Linked DNA regions of Homo sapiens: region 2 is linked to region 1. The links are contacts of gene promoters, found by promoter capture Hi-C in blood cells and fetal thymus (Javierre and others, 2016). All regions are on one chromosome and are shown on one strand. The core of a region is centred on a gene start or on the middle of the fragment in contact, and the rest is flanking DNA. Distances in the headings are between cores, read along the strand shown.

The links. The method cuts DNA at HindIII sites, captures the fragments that hold promoters and counts their contacts. A CHiCAGO score of 5 or more calls a contact.
Region 2: a fragment that was not itself captured here is called in contact with the fragment with the promoter of MASP1 in region 1 in 1 of 17 cell types (megakaryocytes); the score reaches 5.9 in megakaryocytes.

Annotation. Positions count from the first base shown.
Region 1 is chr3:187,287,070-187,294,803 of GRCh38, forward strand. It overlaps MASP1 (MBL associated serine protease 1), which reads right to left and starts at 4,668. Exons shown (of 11, transcript NM_139125.4): 1 at 4,559-4,668. The coding sequence starts at 4,563. It overlaps LOC101929130 (a long non-coding RNA gene), which reads left to right and starts at 4,203. Exons shown (of 2, transcript NR_135551.1): 1 at 4,203-4,467. The HindIII fragment of the contact is 4,632 bases long and covers 1,808-6,439 here.
Region 2 is chr3:187,216,801-187,224,534 of GRCh38, forward strand. LOC105374260 (a long non-coding RNA gene) reads left to right here and starts at 6,226. Exons shown (of 3, transcript XR_007096209.1): 1 at 6,226-7,447. It also overlaps a transcript of MASP1 not described here. The HindIII fragment of the contact is 4,160 bases long and covers 1,995-6,154 here.

The sequences.
Region 1 (7,734 bases), core at 3,418-5,917:
TATAGCATCCTAACTGATATCCCCAACCCACCCACCAGCAGTCTTCTGCCAAAGCTGATTTTCTCAAACACAGATAGGACCACACTGTTCTACTGTGTCTGCAGGGTAAAGCGTCTGCTCCTGGGATGGCTGTTGAGGCCCTTTTGATCTGGCTGATCTGTCCTTCCCACCTCATCTCAGTAGCCAGCCCTGTGAGCCCCCTGTTATTCTGGGAGCACACCATGCCCTTCCATTCCAGCCTCATTGCATGTGCCCTGCTCACTCCTCACCTACTTATCCTCCACTGTCTTGCTTATCCTCCACCATCCAGCTCAGAGCTTCCCAGCTATGGAGTATCCTTTCACTCCTCCACAAGCCACTGCTCCCTGCACATTTCTCTATTATTGTGGGTATCACATTGCACTACGTTAGACACACCCTTTGGAGTGAAATGTACTTGGATTTAAGTCCCAATTCTTTCACTTACTGACTGTGAAAACTTGGGCAACTAGTCTCCCTGAGCCCCAGTTTCCTCAGAAGTAAAATGGAGATTATAATATCTAATTCATAAGGCTCCTATGAGCACTAAAGGTGATGTATATAAAGGTCCCAGTACAGAGTCTGATATATAACAGATTATAAATGAATGAATCCATGAAAGTGGGGCCTGAGTCTTAGATAGCCTAAAAAGTCAATGCTGGGAAACCATACCAGCATCTTCAGATTAACAATGATATATTTGCTAATCAGGACGTTGTTTCTCTCCAATACCCAGTCTGCCCATGTATTCAGATGCATATATCTGTGTAATGCATACATTTGAGTTTTTGGGTATGTAAACAGAGCAAGTTAACTACATACATAGATTATGTAGCTATGTCATGTTAATATTTACATAAAGTGTAAATAGGTAAGTACAAAATGTCTGAAAGGATATACACCAAGGTATTGACAGTAGTTATCTCTGAAATGGGAATATAAGTATTTCCATTTTTGTGCATATAAAATGTTTACATTTGTCAAGAAGGACCATGTACTATTTTTTCAATAAAAAGAAAATACATTTATTTAATTTTTTTCAAGGTCCCTACAATAGCAATATGTGAGATTCTATTAAGAAAACAAAATGTCTTAATCCCATAGCCAATGTCAATATTTTCTTAAACCAATCTGTGGAAGGAGGGCCTCAGAGGCAGAAGGAAGGGAAGGCATATGTCCAAGTTAACCTGTGAATTAGTTGGAAAGCTGAGTCAAAAAACCAGGTGGCAGGGCCCAGGCATCCCATTTTCAAGTGAGGAAATGAACCAGTGTTAACAGGGCTGGGAGTTCAGGTTCAGCCCTGCTGAGGAGGGGAGGGCACTGGCCCTGGGTCAAAAGAGCTAGATTCAGCTCCAGCTTTGACTTTATTTATCCTTTCCATTTTAGGAGGTCATGGGAGGTCTTGTTTCCTCATCCATTAAGTAGTAATAATAACGACTTCCCACAGCACTGCTATCAGCGTAAAGGAGGATGGGGAAGTATTTTGTTAACTGTCCAGCCCTAGCCAAACATTAGTTATAATTATTCCATCCTGCCAGTTCCCAAAAAGCAAGAGTCAGGAATGAGCTTTGGCTCCTAAACCGGACTTCCCTATAATAGCGACACCCAAATTATGCAAGGCCGAAAGGTCAACTTCCTCCATGACTGCTTTTTCCAGACCACATCGAGGAGACACTGAGCCTCCTGAGGCCGGTTCTGTCAAGGACTGGCAGCAGACAGCCCTGTGTAGCCCAGAAGCCCGGTGCCATGTGTGGTAGGCAACTGGTCAGCGTGGGAGGAAGGCCCAGGAAGCTTTCCCTTCTACTTTGTTTGCATCTCAAAACGGTTTCAAACATATGAAACAAATATCTCCCTTCATGTAATGGGCTTGAGCATATGCTTGCCTGCTTGCGTTAGGGGCTGTAAATTGAAGAATATAAGTGGCAGCTTTCATTCCTCGTCACACTCTCTGAATGTTTTTGGCTTCTTGTATACGAGGCACCGGCTGTATAGTTCCCAACACCTGCTATCTATCCTCCGGCTAATCAAAAAGTTTAGCTACATTGCAGAAATGTCAAAAGTAATATATAGAGCTGAGATTTCAGAGGCCCCCCGTAGGAACAGGCTAGCAGGACTCTGTAAAAATGCCTGCATATATCTATGATTGCGGCATGAACGGCACTTGCTATCTTTTCCATACACTGTCCGTACACGCCCCTTGTTTCAACCCACTCCACACCAAGACTCCATTTTTGAATTGAAGAGTTGGAAGGGACTGCATGGATCCTTTACAGAGCACCCTAATTTGACAGACGATGAAAAGGATACCCCAAGAGATGTCACATCATGCTCAATACCATATGGTGAATTAACTTCAACAGAAGAAGGGAATAAAAAGAGCTCACAGAAGAAGCTGGGTCCATGCCCATATCATGCCCAGGCATCTGGCCAAAGCAATTAATCCTGTGAAAAATAATTGAAAAACCCATGGCTTTACGTAAAAAATTTAAAAATATTAATGCCAAAGTCCCTCCTCAGGAGGTTCTGGTTTAATTGCTCTGGGGTGAGGCCTGAGCACTGGCATGTTTCAAGGCAGCACAGATCATTCCGACGTACAGTCAGAATTATGAGCCGTCAGTTTAGAATAATACACTTGGCTGAAAGTCTAGTGGAATATAGTAGAAAAAATCCTGAACTTGGAGCCCGAAGACCCAAATTTGAATCTGGACCTTTTCATGATCATCAGTGTGGTTTGGGCAAGTTGCTTAACTGCTTTTATACCCACTACTTATCCATAAATCCTTACTTCATCCAGAATCTGAAACCCCCATGAGACAGTGCTCTTGAAAGTGCTCTGCAAACACTGAAATACTGTATCCATGTGAGACAAGACCTGCTGGAGACTTTTCTAGCAGAGCACCTTTCTCGTAGTTGCTTGGCTATTCAAAAATTGAATTCAATTCAACAAATAGGTATTGAATGGCTGGTAGGAAATAGACATTATGCTAGGTGCTGGCCATACAAAGATGAAGACATAGATCATGTAACTTAAGGAGTGCTGAGACTTGTAAGGGGAGGTGGACATTTAAACAAGGGGATACTACAAGGACAATAAGAGATGCAGCTTCAAGGGACAGAAACAGAACAAAGGACAAAGGAGGGGATGCTCACTCTGGAATATGGTGGTCAGGAGAGAGAAAGAGATATTTGTGCCAGCTTGAACAATCAGGTCTTCTAGGTGGAAAATAAAGAAGAAGGTTGCTCCAGGTTGAGGGATGAGCATATGCAAAGATACAGAATTGTTACTCAGCCAAGTAGTTTGATATGGGCTGGGGCACTGAATGGTAGGGTGGGATTCAGACCAGATCATTGACAGATAAATGAGATTATCATTCAATGTAGATTGACATAAATCACTTTTTTTTGGAGAAAGAAAAATGATGTTTAATGGCAGGTTTAAAATTACTATGGCTTTAAGAAGAACAGAATTATTGCACTCACTTTTTAAGGACCTGGTTATCTCTCTGAACCACAGGTAATCGGAGTTCAAAGAGTTAACATAGTCTGAAGCCTCTCATTGGTCTCAGGTCCAGAAAAGTTGCTAGGTTACTTTGCAGAAGAGAAACAAATAAAAACACTTTCCCAAGTGAAAAGAAAATTAATAGTAAAAGATGTGTTTAGGGACTTACACATCTGCAGAGCATTGTGTGTGTGTGTGTGTGTGTGTGTGTGTGTAACAGCATTAACACTTAACTAATAAAAATAACTAGGGTGGTTGGGTTTTCAGACTTGCAGGATAGAACTTGTATGAAAGGTCTGGTAAGGAGTGTCAAGTATAATGAGGAATAAGAAAGGTTAAAGAGTTTAAAACCAATTAGAATTTGAAGTTCTTGATTTCAGAACTCTAAAATCCTTTTTTTTTTTTTAAGTATGATATCTCTTTAAGAGCCATTTGGTGTACTTCATAGCCTGATTCATGCCACCAGCTGCCTCTGATTTCAATGAGAAATGCAGAAAATTTATAGGGAACTGTAAAATGGGGACAGATTTTTAGTTTTCTAAATTGAGGTTTAACTGGCAAACTTGTAAAGGTTGAAGAAACCACAGAGCCAAGCTATGGGAAGCTGGTTTCTTTTCTGGTCAGAAGGAATGAACACACAAACACATATCTAACTCACAAAGTGCTGGAAGAGAGAAAGCAATGCTCTTTCCAGAGGAGGAACACGGAAAAATCAGCCTTGTGGGTGAACAGGAGGAGAGTCACATTCGCCAGCAGGCAGCACCCTGTGCAGGCAGTGGGAGAAATCTGAGCTTCAGCAGCGTCCGGAGCAGGATTTGCACGAAGTCTCCCGTTTCAAGTTTTATGTCTCCTGGAGTCCTGGGGAAGGCACCCAGCCCACCCACAGCTCCCTTCTCAGAGCCCTAAGAATTGATGAGAAAGCCCCTCACTACCACATGCAGGACACGCAGGTGAGTCTGTCAGTGACAAGGTCAGACCTTCCCTGCTATTTGACACTGGTCCCCAAAAGGGAACCGTGCCCTCTCCTCCCCTGGCACGTACCTCATTTTCCTGCCTTGGGTGCTCCCGGCTGCCCGGCCTTGGTCCTCCCAGCTTGACTTGCCTGTGAGCTCGTGCCCGGTGTGGTGTCCGTGATGCCTTATCTTTGTTCTGAGGTCCCTGTGTGTCTCTGGAATTGGCTGGCATTCTCCATTCAGGTCACGCCTTCCCCTGCCTGCAACAGATCCCCTCTCCCCCTCTCTCCCTCTGGCTTTTCCTCTCTCCTCTCTCTCTCCTTTGACTTGCTCTTGCACTCCCAGGAACCTGACAACAAAATCTGTCTTCCTACCGAAAAGATCTGCTCCTTCCCTTCCCTCCTTTATCCTGTGTGGCTGACTTCAGCCCTTGAGAGAAAATAACTGAGGGGCTCAAGCAGGTATTTGTATCACTCTGTGTGTGTGTGTGTGTGTGTGTGTGTGTGTGTAGAGAGAGAGAGAGAGAGAGAGTGAAAGGGGACAAAGTCTAATTTCTCTTTAGTCTTTTTTGCCAGATGACTATAATTTTCTGCTTTTCTTCAGGACACCCATGAAAGAAAAGCAATTAAATAGAAACAACCAACTAAGAAGGCAATTCTAGCACCTACACTAGAAGAAAAAAAAAAGGTCTAAATCCCAGAGCGTCTGTCTGCAAATAACTACAGGTTTCCTTGTGAGCAGAGCCCCAAATAACTACAGGTTTTCTCGTGATCAGAGTCACACACAACGACAGGTTTTCCTGTGAACAGAGCCACGGGCCCGGAACTGGGGAAGCACCAAGTCCTGAAGTTGGCTGGTTGTTCCTCCCCATGAGCAATACCTGTGGCACTGTTTACTTGCTCGGAGTGTGTGCGGCTCTACTCCAGCCCAGAAAGGGCCCATCGCAGCAAGAAATCTCACCTCCCCAGGGGTGTAGAAAGACCTGGGCCTGTATATATGTCTATACCCATGGCTTCCGGAGAAATCAACACTAGATCTAAGATGAGCTGAATAATAAGAAAATTACCCCCTCCACAACAACAACAACCAACACTGAATAGGGAGAGGTGTATCTGGGTGTAAAAGTTAAGTTTGACTGTGCACCTTTTCTGTGTTAGACACAGTACTAGTCATTAACATCATCTCAAGTTACTTTTGCAAACTGGTGAAAGTGCTGCTGTTATACTCATTTTACAAGTGAGGACACTAAGGCTCAGAGAGAATATGCCACTTGCCAAGATCATCCAGTTATTTATGACTCCCCACTGCCACTAGCACTAGAAGCTAACAGCTATTGAGTGCTACGTGTCAGGCACTGCTCTAAGCACTTAATATATGAATTCTTTTCAGTCATCTTTATATGTTGTATACATGGCTGGCAATATTCTCATTTTTCAGAGGAAATTGCCCAGAGAGGTTAAGTAACTTTCCCAAGTTCACACAGCTAGAAAGTAATAGAGGCAGAATTTGAAGTGTTAGCCACTGTATTACACTGCTACTCATTAACATTTTATAATGCATATGGAATTTCAAATGCACACACACAGACGGCATTCATAGAGAAACTCAATCTGAGTCATTTTGAAAAGAAGATTAGACTCAGAGTTTAGCTGTAATCTTTCCTTTCTACCCAAGACAGCTGTGTACTTTGGGCACAATACTTAAGGTATCTGATTCTGTGTCTTCATTTGGAAAATGGGAGTTACTATGAGGCTTAAATAAGACTGTGCTTGTAGAAGTGTCCAGGGGAGTACCAGAGAGAGGGCTGCCAGCCACACTCACCAAAGCGGCAGACACATGCACTGTCTACCCTCAGATAACGTTCCTTTGGCACGTTCTGGGGAACAGTGGCTTGACTCTCACTGTACTTCTTACTCCATTTTCTCTCCAGTTTCTCTAATTTTCACACTTTTGAATGCCAGCCTTGCCAAGCTTGGCATTATCAAGAGGCTGTGGTTGATAAAGCAGGTACAAGTATATGAGATGGGAGGATATGTTTGAACTCAGGCACTGTTTTAGCAAAATGTGTTCTGTCTCAGTCAGCACAGGAAAAAAAGCTTTTAACATTCCCGTTAAGAAGACTCACAGGCTCCGCACACATTAAATAACTCTCACAAAACAACATTTTAATGATTTACGTGTAAATGAATCAGAAACACATGGACGACATTTCTCTTGGAATACACAAGGGTTTTAAAACTGAAGGAGAAAGAGCTTGGCAAAATGCACACTGTGCTGGGAAGAGGGCCCCTGCCCAGTAAAGACATTCCCTCAATTCATGCTGCCACGGAGTTTGCCCTCTCCTAATTTAGGGCATATACTGGGAACTGCAGTCATTTGTTCTGGGTACAGAGGGAAGAGCTTGGGCGAGAAAGCCATCAGCTTCTCCTTGGAAAGTGTCACAGAGCAATTAGGCCTCCTGGAATAATTTTCTAGCCATGTTTCTTCAAGGCTGCCAATGTTCAATGGAAAGCATTCGAGATGTGTTCTAAGCCAAAGTTCTGCCAATATATAGCAGATCTGATATGTGCGCTTCCCTGGGAGTTAGCCAAGGCTCAGAGGAAATCTGCATAAAAACAGGAACTACGTGGCCCAGGAATGATCTGCATGTGATTCAGGACAGTTTTCTACTTGGTTACACTACATATTGTCTGATGCTTTTGATGAATCTCCCTGAAGTGTCACTAAGAGATCATGGGTCATCAGGGGTGGGAGGAATGGAAGGGACATTAGGCTGGAAACAGAACTGGGCTCAGTGACTATAGGCCAGCTTGCATGTGACCTTGGGTAAGTCACTTACTTTCTCAGGGGTGGGGGTTGAGGGGTGGAGGGGTGGGGCATCAGTGTGTTCAATTATGAAATCAGGGGGTGGGACTCAGTTGAGATCATAGATATCAACATGTGGATATGAAGACTATGAAATGATGTCGTTGGGAGGGGGTTAGGTAGTTTGCTAGACCTAAAAGATTGTCAAGGAGTCCAAAATAGCTCTAATAATCTTGACATTGGCTTTTTCTGTGCTCATAATATTACTGATACTAAGAATTTAATCACAGATATTCAGAAAAAGTAATATTTAAAAAGGTTCAACTAGTTTTTTGAGTTTGGCAAAAGCGATTAAAAAATGCATACAAGGAACTGACATCATTTAGAATCATGAAAGCGTAGAATGACTGAGGTGGGCTCAGCACCCGCGCACTATAGTCCTGTAGTCCGGGAAAGGGA
Region 2 (7,734 bases), core at 2,825-5,324, 71 kb before region 1:
ACTCTTGCCCAACTCTAGCTTGAAGGGCTTCTTGGTGGTGGTGTTTCTTTGATTCTTGTTCTCCATTGAGTAAGATTAACTCAAGGCAGAAAGAAGGCATGTACTCCAATCCAGAACAGGCCACTCATAGACATGGCACCATATTTTCTAAACCAAACACTGAACATATGATTCAAATTTATTAAATGCCACTGATAATAGTAAATTTAATAAATGAGTGGCATTTAATAATTGTAATGTGGATGCAGAAACATTGACATTCTGGGATATTTTGATAATTTACAGGAATAATAGGACAGGTATTTAAACAGAACTGACCCAAAAACCTAAGACATGCTTTTGTATCTACAACAATCTTCCCATCATAGTCTCTCTCCCTTCATGGTACAGTGATCCTACACGAATACAACAAAATGTTGGTAAATGAAAGCAACTCACTATAATCATCAGTGCATAAAAGACATACAAACAAACAGGGAGCTTTGACTCAATGCAGATGTTTATTAGAACTAATGTTTGTTTTTTCATACGAGCAACAGCTTCTGTTGTTAATAAAATCCGGGCATGATTATTATTGCTAACAGCAGCACTCATGGTATGAAATTATAGCTTCAGTTATACAAACTGTATTCTAGAGAGGTGGGTTTTGGTTGCACAAAGAGGAGACCTTTTAAAGAGGCAGCACATTTAAAACATTTTCTTACTTATTTTTTTAAATTAATATTCACAATCAGTGATTCAAAAAGCAGCAATTTTAAAGTTGAATGAGCTGCAATTGGGGGTAGTGAGTTTCTCATCAGTAGAAATGCTCAAGAATGAGGTCGCGAAGTTAGACAAGGTTGTTGTCCTCACAGATACTCCAGCCCTCTGCTTCTATGGCTCTGTGAGAGATCTGGGTTTCTTGGACCTTAGCAGCAGTGCAGGAGCTGGCACAGCTAATAAGTGCTTGTAGGTCACGGGGAAGCCTGGGTTCCATGGCCTATTTAGACATTTTCTCAGGATAAGGATGAAATTGCAATTGGAGAAATAAACAGAATAAGCTGGGTCCAGCCAGAAGTCAGTATTTGTGCACAAACCTTGAGGCCATTTCAAGTCCTGTTTAGAATTCTAACTTTAAGGAGAAAAGCTCTTTTTGGTGTTGGTTCTGATCCCAGAAAAAGAGTCCACTGGACATGTGTTTTTGTGGGAGGAGCTGGTATAATAAAGGACATCTTGAGTGGACATTTACTATTGTTCTCCCTCCATGTGGAAGGCCTCCTCCGTCTTACCTGTGGACAAGGCTCTGGTCCAGTCACCTCTTCTGGGAAGCCTTCTTGATTGATATCTCCTCCCCCAAAACCTTCATACCAGAATGGTCTTTCTTTTACCTCCATGACTTTCCAAAGCAGCACTTGGCAGGGTTTGTTCTATTACATGGTAGTCAATTACATATGTTTCATGTCTCCCAATAGGAGCTCCTAGAAGGTATAAATGATACTCTCTTCATCTAGGTAGTTCCCACAGGAGCCACCACAGCCTGGGATGTTGGGGTGTGCCCAGGCAGTGCTTGAAATGGGAAGATATGGTGTCTTGGGATGCCTTGGGATGATTCCAAAACAGCATTACAGTTCTTCTTTGGCATTGAAAATGGAGTTTCTGCTAGCTTGACAAGTGTCTGATGGAGCTGGGTCCCATTGCCACCTTCCCCTTACAGAATAAACAGCAGGGCACAAAGAGGTAGAATGACTTGTTTATAGAACCAGAGGCAGGCTGTGAATTGCTGTCCCTGAGTATTCAGCCTGGGGCTTAATATATATATATATATGTTCTCATTCTCCATTATCTTCCTCTTTTTTTTCAAGAGACCTGGAATTACTCCAACAGCTGCATACAGGTCAAGAGTTAAAGTCCCCCAGGGAAGATCAATTTCTATAAAACAGAAGACAGGAACTTGGAGCTTCTGATCCCTTGGAGGGCTTATATCTTGGAGCTCTGGAGGGCATAAAGTCTCTAGAAGCTTCCTGAGAGAGGATGGGAGAGGCATTTTGCTTGGAAAACACTTATGGCCTTGCAAGATGAGGGAGTTCAGGGTGAGGCTCAGGGGTGAGGAGTCGGGGAACGGCTGCTTGGGGTCAGCTGTGGACATAGGAAGGAAGAGTATAGGGGCCTGGGGTACAAACTACCAGGGCCCACCTCATGCAGCCCAGTTTCCCAAGAAGGGAAGGAGGCCAGGGCCCAGAGCAGATGCTCTGCTTAGGAATAAGGAAGGATCCTTTGGCTCACACTTTGCCTGTCCCATGTCCTTGGGAACCCACCCGTAGTGGAAAGGGGTGGGTATTTCAGGAGCAGCAGCAGCAGCATTTTGTCTGCATCAAAGTTCCTTTGAACCGATTGTAATTTTTGCCTTTTGGTTACATTGGCTTTACCTCATCTTATCAGGGGGAAAATGGCTTCATTGTATCTTAGATCGTCAGAGCTTTGAGGACCCTTTGAGATGAGGGAGGAGGACTTGCATAGGGTCATACAGGGGGCTAAGGGCAGAGCTAGTTCTAGAACCAGGTGTCTGCCTTCCCAAACCACAATCCCCAGGCTCCCTCCTGTCCCTGCTTCTCTCAGGCCCTCCCGCAATCTGTCATCTAGTGCATGTTCCTAGTTACATTTGCTAGGGGACATACCACAGGACTCAGAACCTTGTCTGTTTTACTTTTTTAGGGATGAGGGTGAAGATTGATGTTGGGCAAGTTGCACGGTGGCAAAAAAGCATACAGCATTTAAGGGCAGATGGAGATGGTCAAGGTTGAGGGGAGAGGTGTGTCACTGATCAATGCTAAGACCCAGGCAGGGGTTTGTAAGAGAGCTTCGTCTGCCTGGTAGACACATCGACCTTCTGCTAAGGTGCATTTATTGAAAACAGTGTATGCTATGCACTCTGTTAAGTGCTATGCATCTATTAGTTAATCTTTTCCTCATCAGACTTTTACGAGGTAGGTAAGGTATAGCATTTCCATCTTATGAAGAAACTGAAGTTCGAAGAGATGAAGTCACCTGCCCAGCACTGCAAACTAGTAAGTGATAGAGCCTGGATTCGGCCTGTGTTCTGACCACTCTCTTGCTCCATCTCTTTAAAGAGAGTGAAAAGGGGGTGAAGATACCTGCTCTATTGCCCAGTAATGGATAGGCCGAAGGAGGGGGGATGGGAGGAAGGAAAGGAGAAATGGCTGCTTTCATCGGAGGATCGTCCTCTGCTACTGACTGCCCACAGCTGGTGGTGCTGGGGCTGAGGAGCCAAATTCAGTTCCTCACTCCGGTGACCCTCTGGATCCAGTCCTTGTTGTGGTGGATGTAAGAGTATACTCCGTAGCGGTCCTTCTTCCCACAGTCATCACCCCAGGACACAGTGCCCACCAGGTACCACTGGCCTCTTTCTCTATTCAGGGTCACCATGGGGCCTCCAGAGTCACCCGCACAGGCGTCCTTTCCCCCTAGGTGAAAAAGAGACATAGATGAAGATAAAATGCCCCTTCCCAGCCCAAGTCTCCTTCTCCCATGTATGGGTTGTAGTTCAGAGAATTGGGCACTAGAGGGCATAGCAGACCGTTGGACCCAAACCTCAGCTCTGGGCAGTTCTAGGTCAGGCCGCATCAGAGCTCAAATGATTCTAAAAAGCCCTGATTCAGACCTCTTTCTTTCTTTTCTTTTCTTTTTCTTTTTTCTTTCTTTTTTTTTTTTTTTTTGAGATGGAGTCTCGCTCTGTCACACCCAGGCTAGAGTGCAGTGGCACGATCTCGGCTCACAGCAACCTCTACCTCCTGGGTTCAAGTGATTCTCCCTCCTCAGCCTCCCGAGTAGCTGGGACTACAGGCACCTGCCACCATGCCCGGCTAATTTTTGTATTTTTAGTAAAGATGGGATTTCGCCATGTTAGCAAGACTGGTCTCGAACTCCCGACCTCAGGTGATCCACCCGCCTCGGCCTCCCAAAGTGCTGGGATTACAGGCATGAACCACCGTGCCCGGCCAAGGCCTCTTTCTTAAGGGAAACACTGAACTTGGGAAGGGAATGATGAGCATCCTGTAAATATCTTTTCTCCGATGCATCTTCTCCTGTGGAATCCCTCCTCCCACGGCCTTCCTCCAGTCCCCCGCGCCCCCACACTGCCAGCCCACCAGGTTGGGAGGCCTCTGTGCTCCCTTGCTGGCTCTGCACCACTCCCTGGCTGGCAGCGCCCCTGTTGTATGCCAGCCTCTTAACCCACCTTCCTTCTCCCCAGCACAGATCATGTCCCTGGTCACTTTCTTCTTCAGCGGGGCATAAGCCTTCTGGCAGGTGCTGTGGTCAACAATCGGGATTTCAATCTAGAACACAAAGCTGTTATTGGTCCTCATCCCCGGCTGAGAAGCCTCTGCTATTCTGACACCCCTGAAGACGGCTCCTCTCCACTCCATACCTGGACGGACCTGTGTCTACCTTAGACTTGATCTAAGAGACTGCCCCATGCTACAGGTGAAGGAACAGTTGAATGGAGAATCAGGAGGCCCGTGTTCTAGGGCAGTCTTGGCTGTGAAGACCTTGGCTGTGTGAACTTGGGCAAGTCACATGCCCTCTCTGGGCCTCAGATCTCTCTTCAGTAAGATAGAGGTAATAATACTTGCCTAGGAGATGTATTAGTCAATAGGACAATGTATACAAAAATGAAGTTTGGTTTTCTTTTGTCTCACCCCTACTGTAGGACCTAGAACATGTGGCTTACTCATTGTTTTTCAGACTCTGAGACCCTTTTTCCTCATCTGAAAAATGGAGGTTGCAGTATTTGATATACTAATCATTGTACAAAGAGGAGAGGCAGGAACAAGTGCTTTGTAAACTACACACACTGTATAAATATTAGCTACTGTGGAGTTATCACTGCTGGCTTTGCAGCAAGCACTTTGTTATGTTGTCCTCCCTCTCTACAGTATGAGCATCTGTCTCGATGCTGGATCTGTATTTTATGCATTTCTATCTTACATTGCTTGGAGCTTAGTAGATACCCAGAAAATATATATATTTTTTGCAATGCAGCAAAATCGATACATAAAAATAAGGCATTGTGACTATTATTGCCCTTGATCCAGTGTGGGGGTAACTGTTGGAGTAGATGTCTGGAATAAAAAGAGGAAACATATGATTCTCTTTCAGTCAAATCAAGAACTGAATGGGCCATATTCTCTAAATGGACAACTCCTGTTGCCCTTGCTGGGAGGAAACCAGAGGCCATTCAGATCCCTCTTGGGTCATGGCCTTCCCTGGATAAGGGGAGAGGAAGCCAGGGCAGGGTGGTCCTGAGGACAGATCCTCAGCAACTGCTGAGCACCTGATTCATCGTTCAGGTATCATTTCAGCATCACTTCCTTTGGGAATGCCTCCTGAACCCCTGAGACAAGATCAGATTCTCTTTCATATGTTCTGGAGCATCCTGCATTTCTCTCTCTCCACCTTTATCACATCCATAACTACTTTCTGTCCATTCCACTTGACCATGAGCCCAAGGGGGCCAGGGACCAGATCTATCCTTTTACCCCAGCACAGCTAGTAGCTAGTACAGTGTCTGGTACCAAGGAAACACCAAATAGACCCCCGGGAGTTAGTGAATGAAGGGATGAATGGTTGTTGCAAATCCCAAATTTTAAAATATGTCAAAATAATATATGTGGAAGAATTTAGAAACTAGCTGTGTCAGTCATAGGCCCCGGTGATATCAGAGCCAAGCAACTCTTTGATGGCAGCTCGTGTTGCCCCATAACTCTGCAGTTGGAAATAGTATCTTATGGTCTAGAGAGGCAAAATAACTTGCTTCAGATGACCCAGCAAGTTAGTGGGAGCCAAGACTTGAAACTATGGCTCCTTACTTTTAGTTAAGTGTTTTTTTTTTTTTTCCTTGAACTGATAGGAATATGAACTTCTAAGTGTAACTGCCAAGTTCATTACTGCAAGGACTGTGGTTCTCAAGAGCCTGGCTCATTCTGGCCAATTTGGTGTACAGTTCTCATGGTGCACAGCTGGATTGTCACCATGGGGGTGTCTAAACTTGCTGTTTTCTGGGAGAATTTTCATAAGCTAAGCCTTTAATAAGCTACCAGAAAAACTTAACCGTGTTTAGAGGCTAGAGTCCATGACATGTAGAACAAACAAATCAAGCTTTCTGGGGTTCAAAGTCCCATTGAACTTTGGAGGTGGGTCTGGGCTCCTAGTTTCCCACTCACCAACCCCCACCCAAGCCTCAAAATCCCTAAGGGAACAATACGGAGCAGGAAGGCCCAGTGCAGAGCTGAGGTGTCACTGTCTGTAGGTTATAAAGTGAACTTCACCTCCATCAGGGTCTCTGGGAACCTTTGCAAGAACTGCTTCCCCCAGCCGCTGACGATGACCATGGCTCCTGGAGGAGAGAAGATACTGTGAGAACAGAGAAGCTATCTGTGGGGTGTTTGGAGGGGTGCAGCTTGCAGCTCCATCATCCTCTTCTGTGGAGGAAAGACTGGATTGTTCTTCTCAGAGAAAGGTGGTGTGGTGGGGAGGAAGACGTGAAAGGCAGCTGGGCTACAGATTACCTGCAGCAGAGCTAGGGGCACTGGTTTCTATGATGTGTTACTGGCTTACTTGTTTAGTTTTCTATTCTGTCCCACCCTCAACTAGTCTGAAACCTAGGGTCCATGAGAGCAGAATCTCATTCTTGGTCACTGCTATATCACAGTGCCTATAGCAATGCTGTCACATAGTAGGTGCTCAATCAAGAACAGCGAATAAATAAAAAGCCCAGCCTAGTCCACTATGTGCTATGGTGCCTTTAGCCAGCCCTCCTCTCTGCTCCCCTTCTAAGCCTCTGTTTTCCTATCCATAAAATGAGGAGGCTGGACTTGGTATTCTCTAAAACCCCTTTCAGAGTTGACATTCTAGAAGTCTATGAAGTTGGTAAATCTGTGGGGCAATGTGGAAGTGGGTTGAGCACTGACAGAGCAATTATTTTCTCATTTGAAAAAGAGCCTGGATACTGAAAACAGTGTTGGGCTTAAAGTCAGAAAACCTGTACTATATCCCTAGATCTGCTTCATACAAGCTGCATCTCGGGTGAGTCACCTCACCCTGCTGATCCTTAGTTTTCTCGTTTGTAAATGAGGCTACAGTGCCACCTTGCAAGGCTTGCATGGTTCGTAAATAAGTTAATGAACATAAAGCACCTGGTGGGCACATGGCACCCAATGAGTCAAAGCCAGCTACACCTGTGCCTTTCCTGTTGGCTCAGTTCCCCTAAATACTCCTCAGATTACATCTCAGCCATTTTTCTTTTGAGCTAAAGGAAGTGAACTTGATGTGGCACCACTGAAATTAGAATGAAAAGGAAGCCAGCTGACATGGGTCACCTATGTTTAAGTATTATCTCAAACACGGAAATGCCACAGCCACCACATGGGATAGCATCTCCAGTTTAGAGGTAAGGGGATTGAGGCTTACTGAGGTTAAATAACTTCCTGAAGATCACCCAGCTGGGAAATGGTCACAGTGGTGTTTGAGCCTGTGCTGAGTATTTTTTTTTTTTTTTTTTTTTTTTGAGACGGAGTCTCGCTCTGTCGCCCAGGCTGGAGTGCAGTGGCGGGATCTCGGCTCACTGCAAGCTCCGCCTCCCGGGTTCACGCCATTCTCCTGCCTCAGCCTCCCAAGTAGCTGGGACTACAGGCGCCCGCCACTATGCCCGGCTAATTTTTTGTATTTTTAGTAGAG